2 separate regions of the Homo sapiens genome follow, and region 1 is linked to region 2. The links are contacts of gene promoters, found by promoter capture Hi-C in blood cells and fetal thymus (Javierre and others, 2016). All regions are on one chromosome and are shown on one strand. The core of a region is centred on a gene start or on the middle of the fragment in contact, and the rest is flanking DNA. Distances in the headings are between cores, read along the strand shown. Region 1 overlaps LOC101929650 (a long non-coding RNA gene). Region 2 holds the start of ZNF750 (zinc finger protein 750).

Evidence for each region. Contacts are between HindIII fragments. The CHiCAGO score rates a contact against its expected background, and 5 or more counts as called.
Region 1: a contact is called between a fragment that was not itself captured here and the fragment with the promoter of ZNF750 in region 2, in 1 of 17 cell types (neutrophils). The highest score is 5.9, in neutrophils.

What each region holds. Positions count from the first base shown.
Region 1 is chr17:83,170,269-83,176,683 of GRCh38, reverse strand. The region is part of intron 2 of LOC101929650 (a long non-coding RNA gene); the gene reads right to left. The region is part of intron 1 of LOC124904105 (a long non-coding RNA gene); the gene reads right to left. Among named protein-coding and RNA genes, the nearest start is that of METRNL, 94 kb to the right of the region's middle. The HindIII fragment of the contact is 9,987 bases long and covers 1-6,415 here.
Region 2 is chr17:82,835,747-82,841,966 of GRCh38, reverse strand. ZNF750 (zinc finger protein 750) reads left to right here and starts at 1,945. Exons shown (of 3, transcript NM_024702.3): 1 at 1,945-2,040. The region is part of intron 13 of TBCD (tubulin folding cofactor D); the gene reads right to left. RefSeq lists an enhancer at 3,913-4,414. The HindIII fragment of the contact is 6,856 bases long and covers 1-2,263 here.

The sequences.
Region 1 (6,415 bases), core at 693-3,192, 330 kb before region 2:
TCGGGCCTGAAGACCCCGTTTTCCCGGACATCCCAATCTCCAGTGTCCTTGGATGTCCCCACCTCTCAGAAACTTGATTTCTGAAGATGAACTCACAGAACTCTTTTGGGCTGAAAGAAACAATGCTAGAAAACGCGTTTGTAAAATCTGCCCTGCCTGTTGCTTATGGCAGAAGGGGTAACCCTTCTTCATGTCCCATTCAGGAGCCCCACCCTGGTGCCCCAGCCTCCGCTGCTGCTGCTGCTGTTGGTAACCGTGCACAGACCTAAATGGGCTCGGGAAACCTGTCCCCATTCATCTCACACATTTCTGACTTGGACCAAACCCAAATTTCATTTGGTCAATGCCCTTCTCACCTCCTCCAGCCCCGTGTCAAGAAATGAAGCCTGACTGTTTCTGAATCATTTGCGCTTAAATCCCCCAAAAGAAGAGCGCTAAGTGGTTTCATCCCCAGAGAGACCTTGCCCAGCCTTTTCTCTGAGTGACAGGACATTCCCATCTGCTAAGATATATTAAACCCCAGCTTCTAGAAAGGCTGGAGTAGGATCTGAGGTGTTCCAAAGGCCTGAGCTTCCAACATGGTCTGAGCATCCGGAATCTATGGTGCTCCCTCAAGGGGAGGCTGGGTGAGCTTGGACAGGGCCACACACTAGGCCCCAGGGGAAAACCGCTCCCCCCCATGGTAGAGAGCTATGTGAAACCCTCCCTCTATCTCTCGGTGGTCAAGTGTATGTGAACTTGTCCTCTTCCAAAACTTCATTTGTCAATTCATAAACATGCCCTGAACTGAGACACAAACATGCCCTGAGCTTGGGCAGCGCCGGAGACACTCAGCACTCGGGAGGTTACGATCTCTGACCTGAGTGCTGGCTCTCACGGAGGGTCAGGCATCACAGTGGGCACTGAGACTGGACAGCCACAAGGAATTCTGGGCAAACAAGAGCCCCCCAGCTAACCCCTCTGGACTCCAGGCAAGCAGGATGACATCACAGCTGAAACCCAAGACCCAGAGGGGAGAGAGCTGGGGTGGGGGCAGGACCAGCGGTCTCAGACCCAGGGAGGACTGTGTGCAGCTCAGCACGCTCCGAACATGGGGATGGGGGACAAGGGGTCCCCTCCTGTCTGAGATGGGCTACCTGAGGGTGACTGTGAGGAAGGGTCCAGGTCCAGCACCGTTTCAGCCCCTCAGGTCCCACGGAAGCCCAGTGTTCTGGCACCAGGAGACTCCGAGCACAACCTGGGGCTCAGTTCTATCACTCGCGGCCCAGCCTGCTCCACACCACTACCCCTCTGAAAAATCTGTTCTGTCTTCATTTCACTCAGCGTCTGCATGCTGTGTCACCACATTTGGAATTATGCAAACTATTGTTATAAATAAATCACAGGCATCAAAAAGGGACCAAGCAGAAAATGAGCCAAACTCTGGAGCCTGCCGAGTCGCTCGTGTGCCCTGCGGTGCTGACACGGATCCCACCTAGACCTGTCTGTGCTCTCAGGCCCTGGTGCACGTTGCCCTCTGGGCAGGGGCATGGGAGGAGCAGCTGGACTCAGCCTCCAGAGCAAGGAGGGGCGAGAAGGAGAAAGGGGCCTCCTTTCAGAAATCTCTCCTCTTACCAGATGCTATTTCACCACTAGAGATTCATTCCTTTGGCTTAGATTGTGTCTCTGCATCTTCTATTAAATGCAGGCATCTGGCTGAGGAGGGCGCCAGCCTCTCTGTGGGCTTTGTTTGGGTGCCACGCCGTGGGCAGGGAAGCCAAGTGCAGAGACAGAAGTGGCCCAGGGGGTGGGAGGATGCCCAGTGGTCAGTGTGACCAGGGTGAGCACCAGCGACATCTCTGAGGCCAACAGAGACACCCCCGCCAGGTAGGAGAGAGGCACGAACAGAGAGGCAGGCAGAGCTGAGGCAACCCGTGCAGCCAGTCCTCTGGCCTTCATCGAAACCGGCGAGGCCACAGAGGCTCCCCAGGGACCCACGTTTGGCTGAAGGATGTTGCAGGCCCTGGGCCTGGCTGCAGAGGCATGCAGCTGCATCTTTCAGCACCCTGGGCTCATCTACAGAGTCAACAGGGAGGGATTAGGGAGGGGGCTGTTTGCAGAGGGTTTAGGGTTTCAAGTAAAGTAAACCCATGTGTGCACTGTTATGTAACCTGCTCAGCCAGCCTGCAATGCCTTCCCACACCATCCACTGGACAGTGGGGGCAGACAGACCTGGGCACCATCCCCCAGTCATCAAGACGGTAGGTGCTTGGCCCCTGATGCCTCATGAGCTGTGTTGCAGGCTGGGTCCTTCTCCAGCCTTGGTGCAAGAATATGGAGGCTGCTCGTGTTCACCGGCATTGGGTAAATACTGTACACGAGCAAAGGCCGGTGGTGTGCTGGGAGGGAGCTGTTCTCACCTATGGAACTCGCCTTTCAACACATGGAAGCCACAGTGCAGGAGTGAGGCGCAGCCAATGCCACGGAGGCAAAGCATGAGACAGGCCCCAGCTCGCAAGCCCACCTTCCTCTAGGCTGAGTGAGGCCTGTGGGCACTCGCACACACATTAAAGGAGGGCACCGAATCCCGGCCTGGGACTGGCCTCACTGTCGGGGTCTTGATGCCACACTCTGCTCAGGGGTCAGGGGAATACTGTCCAGTTGAACCTCAAGGGCCGCCTCGTCGGGGCCTCCAGGGGCCAAAAGTGAGGGTCCTCAAGCCCCCCACAGCAGCCTGACCCCCACGGGGCCTGCACAGGCTCTGGAGCCAGGGAGGGTTCACCGACGGCTGCCTAGGCCATCTGCCTCAGCCCGCTTGGGACAGAGCCTGGCATGGGGACACAGGTCAGATGAACAAAGGTCCTGTGGGCCTGCAGCCCTTGCTCCTGAGCACCGTGCCAGCCCTCCCCTCGGGAAGGGGATCACCTTTCTCTGGGCAGGACCCTGCCCCACCACCACTCAGGCTCAGATGCTGAGGTTGGCTTCTCCTGCCTCAGCACTGACAACTTTTCCTTCTTCATCTGATCCTTCACCAAGTATTTACTGAGTCCTTCACCAGACGTGGCAGCACTCTAGGTACTGGGCAGAGCGGGGAAGAGGCCAACACTGCTCACCCAGCCCTCCTCGCTGCACCCCGACCCCACTGCTGACCCAGCCCTCCTCGCTGCACCCCGACCCCACTGCTCGCCCAGCCCTCCTCACCACACTGCTGACCCCACTGCTGACCCAGCCCTCCTCGCCGCACCCCGACCCCACTGCTCACCCAGCCCTCCTCGCCGCACCCCTCACCCCACTGCTGACCCAGCCCTCCTCACCACACCCCTCACCCCACTGCTCACCCAGCCCTCCTCGCCACACTGCTGACCCCACTGCTGACCCAGCCCTCCTCGCCGCACCCCTGACCCCACTGCTGACCCAGCCCTCCTCGCCGCACTGCTGACCCCACTGCTGACCCAGCCCTCCTCGCCGCACCCCTCACCCCACTGCTGACCCAGCCCTCCTCGCCGCACCCCTCACCCCACTGCTCACCCAGCCCTCCTCGCCGCACTGCTGACCCCACTGCTCACCCAGCCCTCCTCGCCGCACCCGACCCCACTGCTCACCCAGCCCTCCTCGCCGCACCCCTTCACCCCACTGCTCACCCAGCCCTCCTCGCCACACTGCTGACCACACTGCTCACCCAGCCCTCCTCGCCGCACCCCTCACCCCACTGCTCACCCAGCCCTCCTCGCCGCACTGCTGACCCCACTGCTCACCCAGCCCTCCTCGCCGCACCCCTCACCCCAGTGCTCACCCAGCCCTCCTCGCCGCACCCGACCCCACTGCTCACCCAGCCCTCCTCGCCGCACCCCTCACCCCACTGCTGACCCAGCCCTCCTCGCCGCACCCCTCACCCCACTGCTCACCCAGCCCTCCTCGCCGCACTGCTGACCCCACTGCTGACCCAGCCCTCCTCGCCGCACCCGACCCCACTGCTCACCCAGCCCTCCTCGCCACACTGCTGACCCCACTGCTCACCCAGCCCTCCTCGCCACACTGCTGACCCCACTGCTCACCCAGCCCTCCTCGCCGCACTGCTGACCCCACTGCTCACCCAGCCCTCCTCACCACACTGCTGACCCCACTGCTGACCCAGCCCTCCTCGCCGCACCCGACCCCACTGCTCACCCAGCCCTCCTCGCCGCACCCCTCACCCCACTGCTCACCCAGCCCTCCTCGCCGCACCCCTCACCCCACTGCTCACCCAGCCCTCCTCGCCACACTGCTGACCCCACTGCTCACCCAGCCCTCCTCGCCGCACTGCTGACCCCACTGCTCACCCAGCCCTCCTCGCTGCACCCCTGACCCCCACACGGGGCACAGCCAGGTGGTGTGTTGGGGCCCGTCCCACCCCACCTAGGAGGCAGTGGTTTGGGACACATGTGCTGCCACTGCCCCCAGCATCCCCTCCTGCTCCCACTCCCACCCTGCTCTGCCTGCCCTTGGCCTGGGCTTCTCTAGACCTTTGCATCCCCAGACTGGCCCCCCATCCAACTCCAGGCTAGTCTGTCTCTGGACACCATTGGGTGCATCACTTTAGAATATGCGGTGGGCCCTAAACTAGGCTACAAGTAGGTACCAAAAATAAACAATGTACTTAATTAAAAAGAGGGGTGCAAATGAGGAGCTGGTCCCCAGGGACCGCCCTGCTTCTCCATGCCGGCTCCAACGTAAGGAACGCACCAAAAGCTCCCACCGCACACAAGGGAGGAGCCGTGTCTGCCAAGTCCACGCTCTGGCAAGGCCTGGTCTCACCATGGTCACATCCTGGCCACTGCCCACACCAAGTCCCAGGCGAGGCCCCGGCCCACACCGAGTCCCAGGCGAGGCCCCGGGCCACACCGAGTCACAGGCGAGGCCCCGCCCACACCGAGTCACAGGCGAGGCCCCGGCCGTGAGCTCCATCTGGACAAGCCAGGCTGCCCGGGCCGCCTCCAAGCACAGAGACTCTGTTCCTTGGGAGTCCAAAAATCTTTAGGCTGTGGAATTAGTTTAAAAAGATTTCAGATTGATGGGGCTACAGGAGCTTGGGAAAAGCAAATACAGTCTGTGAAGGGATGCACATTCATCTCAAACTCAAAGAATTTCCCCCAATAATTGTATAAGCAACATGAGCAGCTCACAGTGAAAAATAACTACATATACAAAGACACAAGGCACCATGAGTTAGAACTGGCAGAAAAAATAGTAAGCAAAAATCCACAAAGACTTAAAAAATGGAATTATCAGACACATATTATTTTTAGTTATCATTATGTTTAAAGAAGTAAAAGATCAACTTGAAAATACCTGCAAGTAACAGAAAACTATGAAAATGACAGATAGATTTGTTAAACAGCCAATTAAGATTTTTAGAAATCAAAAATCTAATGCACAAAATTAAAAATACATGTAGAACTTAGAAGTTGTCACTCTGTCCTAACAAGTAAACAGCTGAAAAAAATTGAAAAATCAACTCTTCTTAAATCTTTCAGAGAAATTAGGTCACAGGACAAACTGCTGCCCCCCGGCAAATTGAAGAGAAACACTGACAGATACAGAGAATCACAGCTTCCCAAGAGCAGAAACCTCCACTGGAACCAGTGCCGGCATAAGAAAACCTGGATGAAGTTGATGAATTGCGGTTCAGTGTGGACAACTTTGAGAGTTAAAAACTCGAGGGGACCCAGTTATGGGAAACACGCCTTTGTGGATTTTATCTCCAGGAGCCCTACCAGGTCCTCACAGTGAATATCAGAGAGAAATCCCCTCATGCTCTCAGCCGGGGGAGGGGGAAAGGAGTCATTTTAAAGTCTGCCAGAGCCTTCTGTTCTTAACAAGGCTGCCCCCAACAGAAACTATTCAATCAGCCTTGCCTGTTGAGGTTTTATCAGAGCCCAGACCACCTGGGAGAAGGGAAATACCGAACCCCAGGCCCTTCTAGTCATCCTGTCCAACCTTTAAGGGGGATAGAAACTGAAAAGCATTAGTGAAGTTCACAGTCCAGGACACAGGTTCAAAAGGCTGAGACCTGTTCAGAGAACTAGAGAATGCCTCTCCTGGCCCCATGTTGGACCAACACATTTCTTTTTTTTTTTTTTAGACGGAGTCTCGCTCTGTCACCCAGGCTGGAGAGTGCAGTGGCGCAATCTCGGCTCACTGCAGGCTCCGCCTCCCGGGTTCACGCCATTCTCCTACCTCAGCCTCCCAATTATCTGGGACTACAGGCGCCTGCCACCGCGCCCGGCTAATTTTTTGTATTTTTAGTAGAGACGGGGTTTCACCATGTTAGCCAGGATGGTCTCGATCTCTTGACCTCATGATCCACCCACCTGGGCCTCCCAAAGTGCTGGGATTACAGGCGTGAGCCACCACACCCAGCTTGGATCACTACATTTCTAAAGGGCCATTTACTGCA
Region 2 (6,220 bases), core at 696-3,195:
AAGTCCTGAGCCATCATACAGCTGACCACCCTGCTAGGGAGGCCTCTGAAGTGCTACTAAGTGAGGATGAGGTTCCAGCTGATCTCAGGATTCCAGCTGCCCCTCCAGGACAGAAGGCAGGTGAGTAAAGCTGTCCTGGACCCTCCAGACCAGTCACCTGCCAGCTTTCTCCCACGGAGCCACCTCAGTCAGTGTCCATGAAACAGAAGCAGCACTCGGCCAGGCCCTCCACAAACTCCTGACACAATATATCCTAAGACGTAATAAAACGGTGCTTGTTTTAAGCCACTAAGTTTGGGATAGTTTGCTATCCAGGAATAGGTAAGAGGGACAGGGAACTGCTGTTTTTTGTCATAAGACTTACATAACTCTTTTTGACTTCATAAAGTATATGGATGTCTCAATGGACAAAAGCCACCAAAAAAAATTTTAAGGTATTAAACCATCCTAGGAAACATGGCAAAACCCTGTCTCTACAAAAAATTCTCCAGGCATAGTGACCGTGCCTGTAGTCCCAGCTACTGGGGAGACTGAGGCGGGAGGATCACTCGAGTCCAGGAGGTTGAGGCTACAGTGAACCGTGATCGCACCACTGCACTCCAGCTTGGGTGACAGGGCAAGACCCTGTCTCAAAAGAAAAAAAAAAGGAATTAAATATAAAAGTAAACGCAAAGCCATGTAAAATCTTAAGTCTTAAGGAAAAAAATAACAAAAACAAAAAAACAGACCGGGTGCAGTGGCTCACACCTGTAATCCAAGCACTTTGGGAGGCCGACGTGGGTGGATCACAAGGTCAGGAGATCAAGACCATCCTGGCTAACACGGTGAAACCCCATCTCTACTAAAAATACAAAAAATTAGCCGGGCGTGGTGGCAGGCGCCTGTAGTCCCAGCTACTCGGGAGGCTGAGGCAGGAGAAACGCAGTGAGCCAAGATCATGCCATTGCACTCCAGCCTGGGCAGCAACAGTGAAACTCTGTCTCAAAAAAAAAAAAAAAAAAAAAAAAAAAAACCAGTTTGTCTGTCCTGGCCAGCTCGTCCCTATGCCACAGCCCTGCAGCCTCTGCCCTGCAGCCTCAGGCTCATCCAAGGGCCTGACACCAGCTCATCCCACCTCCTTTCCCAGTCCTCAAACCGACACCACATGCCAGCCTTCGCTACAACTGGGGTGCGGCCTCCGATTAAGCAAGCAAGCAGTTTTGGTGGGGGGGTGTGGAGGTAAAAACTGGCCCCCAAGTTAAGTGCCTCTGCAATTTAAAGTGGGGGGAGGGTGGTTTGCGGGAGTGCACAGCTGGCCCCCTCCCCCGCACCCACACACCCTGCTCCGCAGCTCTTGCGGTGCCTGGTGTCGGGCAAGCTCCGGCAGGTCCCTGCAGCCAGGCTCTGGGATAAGCTCCCTCCCTGCCGGCTCAGCTCCTGAGGAGGACCAGGGACAGAGACTCTCAGGAGCAGGGTAGAGGGTGGAAGGTCCACAGATCCTCAAAGGCCTCACTGGACCTCATGGCAAGGACGCCATGAATACTGTGCCTCCCAGGGTATGCGCGCTTGAGAATCAATCCAAGTGTTTGCCTCCTGCGTACACATGCTCAAGTTCTAAAGGAAAGTCTCACATGTCTTTATCATGACGCCAAATATTCATCGGGTGTGATTCTGATGAATATAGTAATCTCTATTCTAACTGCGGACACATCGAAAGCCCTCTGACATATGGCCGTCCAGGCAGCACCGACGCCGCACTCACAGACAGTTGAGTCTGGAGACAGCGCTGGGAGTCGGCGAGATAACTTGCTTGCTGGGTCCAGTGCTGGGGAGGCTGCCCGCAGCAGCTCGGTGGGTGCAAACACATGAATCGTAGCTGCGGGCAGGAGGAATATCAGGTGCATCTCTACGCCCCGAGGGCTCAACTCCTACACTTAAATCCCTCCCACTGGAACAGCAGGCTCCAGTTTCACCCAGCAAGCGTGAGAACAGGTACTGCTTCCTGAGCACCGCCAGCCACCGGCACCAAGACCGGCCACATCCCAGCACTGCCCACCTCTGGTAAGTACTCACTATTTCTTTTCAAATTCAAGTTTTATTTTAAAACTCTTCTCAGACGTATCTAAAATACCCAGCTGAACGCAGCGTTTGCTCCGTGTCTGCTCTGCCTTGCTCTGGGCTCCGAGGATTACTCAGGACCCAGCAGGTGCATGGCTGGGATGCAGACCACGATTACAAAACTTCTAATGAGGCTGACACTTTATTCTAAGAACATGAACAAGCTTATCTGGAAATTAACTCCTTGTTCTGCCCTAAAATTCATAAAAGTTAAACCAACACAAATTCATATTATTGCTTAACTGCTCCTAACCTCAAAAACAAACTACAATAAATGCTAACAAGAGGTAAGGGTCATATATATATGTGTGGTGTATGTACATTAGGGTGAATTTAGGGTTATATGTGTGGTGTATGTACATTAGGGCTGAATTTAGGGTTATATATATGTGTGGTGTATGTACATTAGGCTGAATTTAGGGTTATATATGTGTGGTGTATGTACATTAGGGCTGAATTTAGGGTTATATATATGTGTGGTGTATGTACATTAGGCTGAATTTAGGGTTATATATATGTGTGTGTGGTATATGTACATTAGGCTGAATTTAGGGTTATATATGTGTGGTATAAGTACATCAGGCTGAATTTAGGGTTATATATATGTGTGGTGTATACACATTAGACACAGCTGAATTTAGGGTTATATGTTTGTGGTGTATGCACATTAGACAGTGCCGAATTTACTATCTAGTTTAACTTTTAATAGTTTTAAAGTTTAAAATAAGTACATAAGCTTACATGAAGTTTAAAATTGGGCATAAGCTTTCGAAAACAAAACCAAACCAAAGGGGTTAAGTTTCTGTTTGGTTGTTAAGGTCTTCTGTACATATAGACACAGATACAAAAGGGTTTTTTTCCTTATATGAAATTTCTCATAAACTTGATTTGGAGGAGAACAATTACTGACCAAGCACAGTCCGTCCACATCTGTGCCCCTAATTTTCACTGCGCATTAGCAAAGGCCTTCCAGCATTTCTGACCGGAGTTTCAGGATGAGGCGGCGACTGTAAAGTGGTGAGCGTTTGTTTACGAGCTCAGGTCTGTAACTCGGGATCTCCTGCCGAAACTAGAGTTAAGAGCCCCTGGTTGTTTTTCTGGATCCATTCTTCCAAATTACATTCCCAAAGACTGTCTTTTCCCCAGGTCTTGGTTGTCCTGAGGTTTATCTTTCATTTTAAAGAACCGAAAGGCTGGGAGGGAGTGGCAGTCAATCACTGGAAAAGCTCAATTGGAGTAAAACTCACAAATCTCGTTCTTGCGACATCACAGTGGGTAGGCGACAATGGTGTGTCCTTGAGTTATGCAACAACGCCACATCACAATATTGTAATTACAGCATGCCCTTCACAATGCTCCAGCCGAGCAGGCTCCTTGCCAGACAGCTGGACACCACCAAAAGGAACATTACAGCACAATCTCAGGGCACAGGTTAGGACGCATGACAAGCATAGTTACCCAGCCTGTCACAGAAACGTCCCATAAAGTTAAACTGTAATTACTTCCGCTGTGTCCTATCAAAGTTTTTTTTTTTAAGAACTCTTTCTCTTGTCTATTTTTCAAAGTTCAAACTCCTTAGAAGCTTGTTAAGCATCCCAACTTCTCACTATTACCCTAACAACTGTCTGCTGCATTAACTGTCCACACTTAGGAACCTTTGGAAAGACAGTATATTGGCAATTTAGACACAACCCCATGGCCAACCGAAACCACTCACTCTTCAAAGCACTGTCTGTGTGGGCAGCTACGCCCCAACACCCGGCCCAGTGCACGTTGAGCAGGAAGAGAAGCGAGCTCTCAGCTCAGCGCACTTTCCAGAAGCCAAGTGCATCGGCTGAGCACACAACATTTAAAATATTTAGAAAGGCACAGAGTGGCATCTGTAAATATGGCAAGAAAAGCCTGGTGAAAGCTCAGCTGGATCCTGAGCATGTTTGAAGCCACTGCACCCCACTGTTCTTACGCCCTTTAGTGTAGACACTGTCTACATTGGCTGCTTGATCTGAAATAACTTGGAGAAAGAAGGCTTTGTGCCAGGCCAGGCTCGGAGGAGGTGTGTTGGAGAAGAGGGCACACATTAGCCAGCAGCAGTCAGGGAAGACTCTGCATAAGTATTTCAGCAACAGCCACCTTTGATCCAGATCTGGAAGCTCTGTGGCATGTCCACCCTGCTAACGCTTCCTGCCGATCCAGTGGGAAATGAGAGGAGGATGAAACCCTCCTTCAGGATCACACCGAGGTCTTCACTGTAAAACACGCTAGCACTGCAGTTCTCAAATGAAAGCAGATAATGAATGAGACTCTGCTTTATTAACAGACAGACAGACAGCTCTCCGGGCATGTTATTAACTAAAATGGAAACACACCTCCCCCAGGAGAGAAAGACGCTCCGCACTTCTTTATCCCCTCTAGAGAAAAACTGCACCTCTAAATACAAATCCAAATTACTGTAAACAGCTAGATTTCTGGGTTACACTGTTTGGGCAACAACATACTCTTTTGGGAATATTTAACACCAGCAGCTGCCAGAGTACAAAGTCGGGCTGGTAGAAACTGACCACACAGAGACTATTTCAAACGCTGTGCCCACAGACAGCTGTGACAGCCTGAGGTACTGGCCGTCGGGTTTGGTTTCTTCATCCTTATAAACCTCACTTAAGCAGGACACAGAACTCACAGGCTGACATCATCATCATTTGAAAGCTTACCAAAGCAACAATGTTATCCCACTTACTTCTCTGACACTATTGTAGTTTTACAGATCAGGTGACCTACGCCCGGCTTACAACTGAAGCAGCTGTGCTCCCTGTTTTAATTAGCAAATTGTGCAAGCCTGAGAGGTCGGTTTATCCAAGGTTACTAAAACCACTGCCCGAGACTCCATATCGACACCAATTCCCTTCGAGCAATTGAGCTCCAAACACTCTCACCACCAGGGGCTTCCTCCCTGCCACACCCGCTTACGTGAACTAACTGATCAAAGAACAAAAGGGCAAATCTGACTAGAAAACAGACATATTCATTTAAAAGCAATTATTTCCCTAATTACTATTTTGGGCAACAGCAGAGCTTACACGTAACCTGCCTGTTGTAAAGCTTTTGAGAAAATCTAACCAACACGGGTTTTGTGGGTTTTTTTGTTTTTTTGTTTTTTGGTTTTGTTTTGTTTTGTTTTTTTTTTTGCCTAAAAGTATCAGCAATGTGAAATAATGCTGCTTCGAAAACTGAAGTCCTCATTTTCTTAAATCCTGAGGGAATCATTTGCTCCTCTGAGCGCTTGTGTTTCAGGCGCTAGAGGTATCAGCAATGTGAAATAATGCGGCTTCGAAAACTGAAGTCCTCAATTTTCTTAAATCCTGAGGGAATCATCTGCTCCTCTGAGGGCTTGTGTTTCAGGTGCTAGAGGCGGCGTTTCGGTCTCGCGAGGACGCAGCTCTCACTTGATGAACATTTTGCAACTGTCATCGTTTCGATCCTGATGCTTCCAGCTAGTGATGAAATCATCAGCTTTCAGATCCCTGCCGTAACACATCCTATACAATCATGGGAACCTGACTTGCAGAGGTTCTCACGCCTTCAGAACCAGGGAGCGCGGCGAGGCATGCCGGCACAGGCCCCACTGACTGAGCTGGCTGGCCCAGCGTTTGGCTGGAACCAGGCACCCGGCTTCTCTACTTCCTGAAGGGAGGCAGGGAAACTGCTTTCATCACCCAGAGCAGGTCTGCCCCACACGGTAGGGACTGAGCCCATAAAGAATTATTTCACGTTCTTTCTTCTAATAGGGGGAAATTAGAAAGACAGAGCTATCATTACGTGTTTCATTTGCTTGGCCTTGACCCGGTGCCTTGTAGCTTCTGTGGCAGCCCACGGTGGGAGACGGGTGCTGAGCGCGGGGTCTGAGCCCAGGGTGTCACCCGACACCCTCCCTGGTTGTAGGGTAACAAACATCTTGTCCTCATCCAAACCGTGCCTCGCTGTCCCTGCTACACAGAAACTCATCACAGCGAAGGTGGCAGGTCAGCAGAGCCCCTTTTCTACCCAAACCACTTCTTAGTAAATAAATGTCTTAAAGAACTTAAAGTATGTTAATAGAGGCAGTTTGTAGGGGGAAGGGTGGTTGTGT